Linked DNA regions of Homo sapiens: region 1 is linked to region 2. Evidence: promoter capture Hi-C in human tissues and cell types (Jung and others, 2019). All regions are on one chromosome and are shown on one strand. The core of a region is centred on a gene start or on the middle of the fragment in contact, and the rest is flanking DNA. Distances in the headings are between cores, read along the strand shown. Region 1 holds the start of C19orf18 (chromosome 19 open reading frame 18). Region 2 holds the start of ZNF667 (zinc finger protein 667).

The links. Contacts are between HindIII fragments. The study calls those that stand out against the background at their distance.
Region 1: a contact is called between the fragment with the promoter of C19orf18 here and the fragment with the promoter of ZNF667 in region 2, in 1 of the 25 tissues and cell types used here (dorsolateral prefrontal cortex).

What each region holds. Positions count from the first base shown.
Region 1 is chr19:57,970,090-57,975,989 of GRCh38, reverse strand. C19orf18 (chromosome 19 open reading frame 18) reads left to right here and starts at 1,456. Exons shown (of 6, transcript NM_152474.5): 1 at 1,456-1,678; 2 at 1,787-1,891; 3 at 3,486-3,527. The coding sequence starts at 1,558. The HindIII fragment of the contact is 10,862 bases long and covers 1-5,900 here.
Region 2 is chr19:56,476,028-56,482,057 of GRCh38, reverse strand. ZNF667 (zinc finger protein 667) reads left to right here and starts at 4,713. Exons shown (of 7, transcript NM_001321356.2): 1 at 4,713-4,786. It overlaps ZNF667-AS1 (ZNF667 antisense RNA 1), which reads right to left and starts at 4,184. Exons shown (of 2, transcript NR_036521.1): 1 at 3,677-4,184. The HindIII fragment of the contact is 11,770 bases long and covers 1,578-6,030 here.

The DNA.
Region 1 (5,900 bases), core at 207-2,706, 1.5 Mb before region 2:
TGAGGAGTTCAAGGCCAGCCTTGCAACGTAGCAAGATCCCATCTCTGTTTAAACAGATAAGAGTTTTTTTAATGTCTTAAAGGGCCTCCTGGCAGGGCACAGTGGCTCACTCCTGTCACCCCAGCACTTTGGGAGGCCAAGGTGGGTGAATCATGAGATCAGGAGTTCGAGACTGGCCTGGCCGCCAACATGGTGAAAGCCCATCTCTACTAAAAATACAAAAATTAGCTGGGTGTGGTGGCAGATGCCTGTAATCCCAGCGGTTCCAGAGGCTGAGGCAGGAGAATCGTTTGAACCCAGGAGGTGGAGGTTGCAGTGAGCCAAGATTGTGCCACTGCACTCCAGTGTGGGTGACAGGGCAAGACTCCATCTCAAAAAAAAAAAAAAAAAAAAAAAAGGGCCTCCTGTTGGTCAGGTCACATCACGAGTCAAAAGAAAGTCCCAGACTTCTGCTTCTTCCTGGAAGTATTCCCTTCCTCTCACCTATCATGCACAGCCTGGACAGTATTGATTTCAGTGGTCCCTAACATCCAGCACTCCCAGGTCCCCTCTGTCTCCCTCATACATGACATAGTTCATTGCCTTTTTTGAGCCCGTCTTCTATTCCTCCCATCTCTGAAGCCTAGGGCCCACTTTCAGTCATCAGGAGTCCCCCTTTACCTTCCTGCTGTGGGTCTCCCCTGTGCACATTGCCTCCCTTCTAAGGGTGACTGCTTTCCTTCCACTTTCTTTTCTTTCTTTCTTTGTGCAGTGGTACGATTTTGGCTCACTGCTACCTCTGCCTTCTGGGCTCAAGTGATCTTCCTGCCTCAGCCTCCCGAGTATCTGGGACTACAGGTACACGCCACCATGCCTGGCTAGTTTTTGTTTTTGTGTTTGTTGTTTTATTTTTTTGAGACAGAGTCTTGCTCTGTCGCCCAGGCTGGAGTGCAGTGGCATGATCTCAGCTCACTGCAACCTCCACCTCCTGGGTTCAAGTGATTCTCATGCCTCAGCCTCCCAAGTAGCTTGAACTACAGGTGTGCACCACCACGCCCAGCAAATTTTTGTATTTTTAGTAGAGATGGGCTTTCACTGTGTTGGCCAGGCTGGTCTTGAACTCCTGGCCTCAAGCGATCTGCCCACCTTGACCTCCTAAAGTGTTGGGATCATAGGCGTGAGCCACCGTGCCCATTCCTTTTTTCCTGAACATTTTCCAAGTGAGGTTGTTGGAAATCACGGATGGGGAACTATGCATGCGGAGGGCTGACTGTAATTGATTTCTTTCTGCCTCCTCACTAATCTGCACACTGCAGGCAGGGACCTGGTCTCATCATGCCTGCACCTCCAAGCACTGCCCTCTTACACTGTAGTCTCCCCATTGGTCAGCATGGTTCCATGAAGGAACTCCATTATCACAGCAAGGACTGACCTCACACTGGTGGCTCCAAGTCACTGCCCAAACATTCTGAAGGGAGTAGAACTTCTTGATTCCTCAGATAAATAGAGGACAGATGCTGGACTGTAGCTAAGTATTTCCTTTCATCTACGGGATAAAATACTGATAATTTGAGAGTGATGGACAAGGTTCAGAGTGGTTTCCTCATTTTGTTTTTGTTTTTAATGGAATGCCAACTTCATTTATGCTTGCCGTATGCAGATGGACTCCATCCCACTGGAAACATAACAGGCTTACCAGGTAGCTTCAACCACTGGTTTTATGTGACTCAGGGAGAATTGAAAAGCTGTTTCAGGGGAGATAAAAAGAAGGTAATTACATTTCACCGCAAAAAGTTTTCTTTTCAAGGCAGTAAACGGTCACAACCACCCAGAAACATCACCAAAGAGCCCAAAGTGTTCTTTCATAAAACCCAGTTGCCTGGGATTCAAGGGGCTGCCTCGAGATCCACGGGTGAGTCATTGAATTCCTCATTCAGTGGAGTGAGAATCGTAGCCTGGAGTCCTCTTATCTGCCATGTGAATGTGTACTGTGTGCTTGCTGGTAGAAAGGTCCATAAAATAGAGTATAATTAGATAAACATTTGCTTGGAAATTAGATCTTATGCTCTTCACTCTCTGTTAACTGCTTTCTCTTTAGGGATTGCCACTTTCTTCTCTTTTTCATTTCACTTTAATAAGCGCACACAAAAACCTTGATCCCATCCAGATTACACAGGTATGCCTGTCTGACTTGAATTTGGTGCACATTTGGCAGTAGAGCATGCAAGTCTAGACACAGAAGGTTTGTGAGTGTACAGAATTCTTTTTTTTCTTTTTTTTTTTTTTGAGACAGAGTCTTGCTCTGTCGCCCAGGCTGGAGTGCAGTGGCGCGATCTCGGCTCACTGCAAGCTCCACCTCCTGGGTTCACACCATTCTCCTGCCTCAGCCTCCCAAGTAGCTGGGACTACAGGCACCCGCCACCACGCCAAGCTAATTTTTTGTATTTTTAGTAGAGACAGGGTTTCACTGTGTTAGCCAGGATGGTCTTGATCTCCTGACCTCATGATCCGCCCGCCTCGGCCTCTCAAAGTGCTGGGATTACAGGCATGAGCCACCATGCCCAGCCGAGAATTCTTTATAAGCATTTTCTATGGTTCCCTTCTAATTTGAGTACTAGAGGATGTTTGTTTATCTTATAACAGCAAAACCAACCCCGACAATCTTTGAAGCTCAGCAACCCTTTGTGGAGATATATGATGCTTGTAAATAATCTCCATTCCATGCAAGGGAAATGCTGTCTGTGTGATACATTTGCATGTAATTTGTGTCCGAGGAAAGGACACTATTGTTGGTTCCCTGGCCTCTCTGCCTGGCTCTCTGATCCTTTTTTTTTTTTTTTTTTTTTTTTTTTTTTTTTTTTTTTTGAGACGGAGTCTCACTCTGTCACCCAGCTGGAGTGCAGTGGCGCAATCTCGGCTCACCACAACCTCCACCGCCGGGTTCAAGCAATTCTCCTGCCTCAGCCTCCTGAGTAGCTGGGACTACAGGCGCGTGCCACCATGCCCAGCTAATTTTTGTATTTTCAGTAGAGACGGGGTTTCACCATGTTGGTCAGGCTGGTCTCGAACTCCTGACCTCGTGATCTGCCTTCCTCGCTGGGATTACAGGCATGAGCCACTGTGCCCAACCCTTGCTGACCTTCTAATGAGGTCGTAGCCCCTTCAACTCTAAGTCTCTCCAGGTCCTTAATTTGGGCAGAGATTTCCCAACTTGTATGACTGCAAAAGGAGACCAGAAACCAAAAGTATCCTGTTCCTAAAGGTCATTCTTCATGACAGGAAGCACCAGGTGCAAAAAGAACAGCAGGCTCACCAGGCTTCTGCAAATTAACCCACACATTGCTGCCAGGCATTGGGAGGAATGTATTAACACATCCCATCTTAGATATTTGGAAGCTGTGTGTTCGGCGTCCTTCTCTAATGCTAAGTTATTTCCTTGTTTTCCCAAGTTCATCTTAAACCATCTTAAAGTCTCTTCTTTTTGATCCCCTTTGATGGCCTTTTAGCTGCATCCCCTACGAACCCCATGAAATTCCTGAGGAATAAAGGTAAGCCAAGGGATCTGGGAGGGCGGGTGGACCCGCAACATTCCTGAAGCTGTCGTGATGTGTGGCTCCAGAGGGTGCTGGCTGGTCACCAAGGAGCCTGCACACGTGGTGCCTTCATGTGTGTTAGACAAGGTGCCCCCTCTGGAGGGGGATGCGCAGTGACACCGCTTGGGGCAGGTGAGAAGGTGGCTCAACTCCACGGGCTGATGTTGTAGTGAGTAGAGCACAGGCTGTGTCTGAGATCTCTTTGTGGAACACACAAAATGCATGGGCACACACAGCGGCCCTGTCAGCAGCCTTTCTAGCAACTCTCCCCACTGTGGCTTGTCCTGGAACCTCCTCAACACCTCTCGCTTCAGAGTCCTCCAAAGCAGAAGGCACCTTGTGTCCTGCTGCTGCTCCCGCCCCAGAGCATCCTTCCTTCTCCTCTGCACATTTGCTAAGTGCCTGCAACAGGGCGGCTTCTGAGTCAGCTCCCCCACCACCTACCCATCTCCACTGCTTTCACATGTAGCCAGCATTTTATTTAATCACATATGCTGAGTGAGACATGCAGACACAGAAATGACTGTCATGAAGGAAGAAGCCTGATACTCACGGGTCCCTAGAAGCAGGAGTCCACACAAGGAAGCACCAGGGTCTATCAGAAGGCAAAGGGAGCCAGGAAAGTGTGAGCAAAAGCCTTTATTCTGGGCCGGGTGCGGTGGCTCATCCCTGTAATCCCAGCACTTAGGAAGGCCGAGGTGGATGAATCACTTGAGGTCACGAGTTCGAGACCAGCTTGGCTAACATGGTGAAACCCCATCTCTACTAAAAATACAAAAATTAGCCAGGAGTGGTGGTGGGCACCTGTAATCCCAGCTATTTGGGAGGCTGAGGCGGGAGAATCGCATGAACCTGGGAGGTGGAGGTTGCAGTGAGCTGAGATTGGGTCGCTGCACTCTAGCCTGGGCAACAGAGCGAGGCTGTCTTTTTTAAAAAAAACAACTTTATTCTGGTTTTTACAGGAAGGCAGGTAGGGAAGGCGGGCTTGGGATCAGCTTGAGTGATTTGGTGGCTGTGGGGCATGGGGTATGTCCCTGGTTGTCTGGGACCTGGCCCTGGGGTGGTTGGGGGCAGGGGATGGTGGCCTGGAGCATGAGGGCTCCATAGAGATTGTTGGGGTGTAGGCTTTGGGTGTGTCGGCTTGCACATGAAAGGTGCACTTGCAGGCCAGGGTTTACTATCTTCAGGAATTGGCTGGACCTGGGAGGGCAGTCTCTTCAAGGGTCAGTTAAGGCCCCAAGATGTCAAAGTATCAGGAAATACAGAAAATAAAAAACGTGATGAATACATCCATCCACGCCAAACACATTATCAATCTTCCTAAAGCTCAGCTATGACTGTTTCACCTGCCCATTGACACCACCATCACCAAAGCACAGAGCTTGAGTCCTGGCTGGGGTATCAAAGGCCTGCACACTGGTCCTTCTTTTGACACTAGCTCGTTTTGTGTGCTGGTGCTAGAAGGTCACTGAGACCTCTGCCACCCCTGAGCTTCAGGTCCCAGTTGTAGGTAGGATAGAGACGGGACAAAATTGTTTATCTAATAAAGTTGATGGTCCGGGTGCAGTACAGGCTCATGCCTGTAATCCCAACACTTTGGGGGGCTGAGGTGGGTAGATCACCTGAGGTCAGGAGTTTGAGACCAGCCTGGACAACATGGTGAAACCCCATCTCTACTAAAAATACAAAAATTAGCTGGGCATGGTGGAGGCCAGCTACTCGGGAGGCTGAGGTAGGAGAACCCGGGAGGCTGAGGTTGAAGTGAGCAGAGATCGCACCACTGCACTCCAGCCTGGCAACAGAGCGAGACTCTGTAACAAAAAAAAAAAAATTATATGGAAAGATGTCTACCTTACTCATAGTAAGAATTGTGCATTGAAACTGCCAAGCTTAAATAATGAAGTTCGACAAATATGATTAAGTACAGAGTTTATTTGAGCACAAAGCTTGAGGATGTCCACCCACGAGACACTGACTCCAAACTAATGGGGACAGCATTTCCAAAGAGGAGAAGTTATGGTTTCACTTATATGTGCAGAGACTGACATTGTAGCAGGATTGTAACATTTTCCATATGAGACGAGTGCATAAGTTACAGCTATTTGATTGGTTATAGACGGCAACGTTCCAAGGAAGATTATTGCTCTGTGAGGAGGGGAAGCCATCTGAGGGGGCTCTCACAGCTGGCACCTCTTGATCTTCTTATTTACAGGAAAAAAGGCAGAAGTTGCCACTGCATCCTTGTGATTCAGGCTGCATAGCCACATTGCTCTCAGGTTCAGAGTAGTTCAAAGTTCCAACAGCTTTAAGTTTAAATTAGTTTAAGTT
Region 2 (6,030 bases), core at 3,464-5,963:
GCCCCCCTTCTTTGAAGACCATGCAGAAGCATCATATCAGCTATGTACCTCACAAGATAATGCTTGCCTTCCATAGGAATGTGTATACCATCGAGGCCAGGATTTCAAGACCAACCTGGCTAACATGGTGAAACCCTGTCTCTACTAAAAATACAAAAATTAGCCGGGCATGGTGGCAGGTGCCTGTAATCCCAGCTACTCAGGGGGCTGAGGCAGGAGAATTGCTTGAAAAAAACCTAGATATGACTGTGATTTTAAGACTTTTGCAAAACACAATGCAAATAAGCCAGCACACAACACTGAGTAAATGTTTGTCAAAGGGTAGACAGCAGTGTCTCGTAGTTTCTATAATTTGCTGAATTTATTTTTCATGTGTTCAGTAGATAACTTCAAGATATAAAGAAACCTGGTGCACAACTGGGTTATCGATCGTAAGCATTTGAGCAAAACTACACACCAGGGTTCATGCCTGACCTCAGGGTAGGAGAAGCTCCAGGACTAGTGGGATGTGACTGATAAGTGAAAGGGAGGGAGAGAGAAGCATACATTTGTGACAGCATAAGGAGATTCATTTGCATGTAAGCATCTAGCACGAAAAGATATATGCTGTTTCCTTAACTCTTCAACACCATGCTCTCAAATCCTCTGAAAATATTTCTCCCACAAGAACTTTATTCTGTTGTCACAATTCAGGCCCTTGAAATCCCACAAATAAACTGTATACCTCCCCAGTGATATCCTGACTCAATTCTCTCTGCTTAATCCCTTCAAACAATACTCACAAATATGAGTTCTGCTATGGGCTATGATACAGAAGCTTGTACTAGACAAGTCTTCCTATCATAGCATATGGCAGATGCAACTATGTATGGTAGATCCAACTGTGTATGGTAGACACTGATAGCAATAACTTAAGCATACTCTGAAAATGACCCAGCATGGCAGACGCACCTGAATACATGTTCGGAGTTCCAAATATGACCAACATGGAGATTCATCTTTATCTATGATAAATGCCTGAGTCCCTGGCCTGTCCTGTGGAACGTGGGCCCTATAGGGGATTAAGGCTCTTTGTCTTGGGTTAAATGAGTCCCTGGCCTGTCCTGTGGAACGCTGGCCCTATGGGGGCTGAGGCTCTTTGTCTTGGGTTAAATGAGGGTTGCCATGTGGATGCTGTTAGGAGGAGAGTATTAAGTGAAAATGCTATACAAAGTCCATGCTTTCTGCAGGCGGTGGCAGTTCTCCTGTTCAGCCTACCACCACTGGACCACTCTGTATGTAAGTTCCATCTCACATATAACCTATGCCTCATTTCCTGGATCTGAGTCTCTTCTTCAGCCTCTTGAACCTGGTGCCATCCCTTTTGGAGCTGAAAGAGTTGCAGCATGACACAATAGCATACTACGAAATTAAACTATATCGGGGCAGTTTTGAGGCAGTGGACAAAAGATTCATGTGAGAGGGGAACCTGTTAACAAGCTGAGCCTCTTTATCTCCCCATTCTCTGTCTAGGGATAATTCCTCAACTACAGTGGACAGAGCTGGAATCTGAGCCAAGCGGAGCAGTCATGCTGAGTTCAGGAAGCCTCACTGCTAAATGCCACCTATCAAAGTGGCCTCCCCTGACCATCCTGTGTAAAATAATCCCTCCTTCCTCTCTAGACTTTCTAGCGTCTTTACCCTACTTTTTTTTTTTTTTTTTTTTTTTTTAACAAATTAAATCTTGGGCTGGGCGTGGTGGCTCACGCCTGTAATCCCAGCACTTTGGGAGGCTGAAGCGGGCAGATCACGAAGTCAGGAGAGTGAAACCATCATGGCTAACAAGGTGAAACCCCGTGTCTACTAAAAGTACAAAAAAATTAGCTGGGTGTGGTGATGGACACTCGCAGTCCCAGCTACTCGGGAGGCTGAGGCAGAAGAATGGCCTGAACCCAGGAGGCGGAGCTTGCAGTGAGCAGAGATCACGCCACTGCACTCCAGCCTGGGCGACAGAGCAAGACACTGTCTCAAAAAAAAAAAAAAAAGATTCCAGATACTCTGGAGCTGTCATAGGATCAGGTATTTAATTTATGCCTGTAATTCCCATGGGTTCCTGGGGCAGGGGGGGAAGTGGTGGGGAGTCCTGAGGTGAGAGTGAGGGAAGGTCTGACCAAATCCAAGACCAGGACTAGATTCTGGACCTGGGCTCTGGGACAAACTGTCTTAGAAAACTCATGGGTGTCTTGGGAGATAGTTGCTTTATTCGGAGAATGGGCACAACAGAGCCTGATCAGGAGCCAAGACATCCGACCCACACACTCTGGTTTCTCTGAACTAGGACAGTCTGAGGCATAAAGCTTTTTCCCAGATTTTCGCACTAACATGCCCCTAAAACAGCAGAAAGGATGACATACTTTCTTGGGAGGTGGTTTAAAGAAAACAAAGAAACTGCCAAGTGACAGATTTATCCTAAGATTTCTTGGATCTCTTGACCACACCCCTTATTCTAGTATTACCAGGTATTTAGAACAATCTCCAGTCTAGAAAGAAACTTGCTCCAAGGAACAACTCAGAGAACGGCTTACAGGATTAAAGAAAACCTTAAATGGAAAAATTCACTTTTGACCAGGGACAACAATCAGTAAGTGCTAGCTGCTAGTCACAGAGGTAATGGTAAAAGTCCTAATAGTAGTATCTGTTAGCTTTTATTTTTATTATTGCTACTACCTAATCACAGAAATGGGAAACCAAAACTAGTTCCTCACACATTCTCCCTACTACCTAGTCCCCAAAACTTGCTCAGAGTCACCTGGGAAGAAAGAAATCACAGGCCCTGGGTTCCCCTCACACATATACCCACCTATGCAACTACAAAAACTGGGTCTCAACACACAGGCGGGTACACACACACAGAGTCAAAAACACTGGCTTTCCTTGGCCGGTCGCGGTGGCTCACGCCTGTAATCCCAGCACTTTGGGAGGCCGAGGCGGGCGGATCACGAGGTCAAGAGCCCACATGGTGAAACCCCGAATCTACTAAAAATACAAAAAACTTAGCCGGGCGTGGTGGCGGGCGCCTGTAGTCCCAGCTACTAGGGAGGATGAGGCAGAAGAATGGCTTGAACCTGGAGGCGGAGGTTGCAGTGAGCCGAGATCGCGCCACTGCACTCCAGCCTGGGCGACAGAGCGAGACTCCGTCCCAAATCAATCAATCAATCAATCAATCACTGGCTTCCCACACACACACAACACTCATCCACAAAAACTGGCTACGGCTCGAAACCTTAGTCGGATAGTATTTTAGGCTTTATGGGCCACAAGATCTCTGCTGCAAGTACTGAACCCTGCCATTGTGCAAAAGCAGTCATAGAATAGACGTAAATATACACAAGTATACATATTCAAAATGTGTGGTTCCCCACAGAGACGTACACACCGCAAAAACTGGGCTCTAGAGTCAACAGTAAATAGTTCAGGCTTTGTGGGGCCACACAGTACCTGTTCCCACCTACTCAACTCTGCCCTTCCGCAGAAGTGGATGCAGAAGCTAAACAAATGTCCAGAACATACACACATATTCAAAATCAGTGCCCCCCGCCACGTACAAAACCACAAAAATCGCCTCAGAGACACACGTATAAGAAAACACAAAGGTTCGTCCTCACACATGTTCAGGGTAACACAATGTGGGTCTCACCTACACAAACGCGCGATCAAAACCCGGGACCCGCACGCCCAGATGACCGGGACGAGGCCATACTTCACATCTTCTCTCACAGACTCACAATTACGCAACGGTCACCTCAAACGACTTTATGGCGGACACTCCCGGACCTTCCGCTGTCCGCCCCTCCTCGTCCCTTCTCCCCGCCGGGGTGAGCCTCATCCACCCAGTCTCAACCCCGACGCAGTCAGTCTCACTGCCAGCCCGCCGGCTACGCAGGCGCAACACCGCATGGAACAGCCCCCAGGGCGTGCAGGGGCCGTTGGGAAATGTAGTCCGAGCGCCACGCAAAGGACTGTGGGCCTCTTCGCAAAACGTGCAGGTGAGTCCCCACTGTTGGCCAAAAGAAACATCCCTCCGCTGCTCTCCCGGGTCAGTTCATCTCCGACCCGGACAGAGCAGAACCAGCGCAGCCCAAGCCTTCTTCACCTCACGTTCTGGGTGGGACTTTCCACAGCCTCGCTGCACCCCGGTGGATTCTGGAGGTCGCAGGATGACTGCGTAGTGCGCACGCGCGGGTGGGCGGTGTCCGCCTCCGCGGGTGAGGCCGGCTCCAAACCTCGTGAATGTGGGGGCGAAGGACGCTGGCTGGCTGGAGGCAATAAGCCCTCACACGGGAACGTGTGGTTGTGGGAGCGGGGAAGGCGGCGAATTGGGGAGGTTGGGTTTGGTTAAAGAGCTCGAGGAAGGGCCTCAGTGTCCACACGTGATCTCCTGAGAGGATGAAAAGCAGGGCCAGGCGCCAGTCCCCTAGGAGACCGGTGTGCGTGCCAGCCTCGGGGGTGTGCGCAGGCGCGGGACCTCGCGCGTCCGCCTGCACCAATCGTGCGAACGCGCTTGTGCGTGTGGCGCTGAGGGGTCGGGGCCTCAGGCCGGGGCTGGTGGTACTGTCCCCGAGAGGCGGGTGAGCGCACGCCGCGTGGCCTTGTTTGGGGGCGGGGCCACGCGCCCGCATGCGTGGTGCGTGTGTGAAGGGGGGTGCAGCGCGCGGTCCCGGGGTCCCGGAGGGGAGTGCGCAGGCGCTGAGTCCCTGCTCGGCTGTCTCGGTGGTCGCCGCCGGGGTCTGAGCCCGGGAAGACCGAGGTAAGGGGGCTGGCGAGAGTGTGGGTGTGTCTGAGGGCGTGGGCGGCGCGCCCGCCACTGCGTGGACGTTCCTGCCAAGGCGCGCGTGGGTTTGCGCATCCACGATGGCGTGGGCGTCTGCGCGGGTGCTTGCGTGGGCGGTGGGCTCGCGCCTGCGTGGGTTCTCGGCCCGCCACGGCGTGGGGTTTGCGCCCTTCGCTGCTGTGGTTCTCGGGGCTTGTGCGCCCAAGTGTGAAGTTGGCGCCGCGTGTGAGGCGAGCCGTGTGTGCCTGTGTGTGAGGGAGCTATGTCGGGACCGCGGATGTGTATCGCTGCGTGACCCACGCGAAGGAAACAATGGAGCCATTGGGAAGCCGGGAGTGGGTGTGTGACGCTGACTGTGAAGATTTGTGTTTCTGGAGTGTGTGCGTGTGTCAGTGTCAGGCTGATGTGGGCGTTTATTGTAGCCTTGGGTTACTGTGTGACTTGCCTGGGCGTCTGTCTGCCACTTAGCGTCAGTGGCTTTGCGGTTATGAGTGTGTGACTGTGCCTTTCTGGTGTATATCTCACTGTAACCATGGAAATGGAGGCCCACAGGGGAAGAATTCTTAGCAGCTCTAAGATGTGATGGGCTGCCCTGGAAATCTGTGGAACTGTTTAATTGTGCATGACTTTCCTCCTTGGTAAAATAGCATATTAATAGCACCTGCCTGGGTGTTATTGGGAAGATTAAATGGGATGACGTAGCTGAAACACCCTGCACAGAGCTTGTCACATACTAATCACCGTGTTTAGGTGTTGGTTATGGTGCTGGTGGTCGTTTTTCTTTGACCCTATACAGAGGCAGAGGTAGTGGTGAATACTGGAGGACTTTGCATCTCTGAGCTTCGGACTGGGCTATCTTTGTCCACATACCAGGGCATCTGACCATCTCCAGTTGAGCAGTGGTGCGCTGCCCCCGCCAACCACCTGCGTCGTCAGTTTTCTGCATGTGTACATTTGAGTGGAGGACAGAGCCCTCCACTGACGCTAAGTATGGTTGTGTCCCCTTCCTACCAAGGTAGCTTGGAAAAATAAGAGCATGGACTGTGGCGCCCCGCTGTCTGGTGTTGACTCCTGGTTTCACCACTGGCTGGCTGTGTGACTGAGAGAGCTTACTTAAGTCCACCACTCCTCGGTTCACTTGTAAAACAGTAGTAATAACAGAACCAACCTCAGGTTTATGGTGAGCATAAGTAGAACTTGGCACAAGGAAGTGCCACATC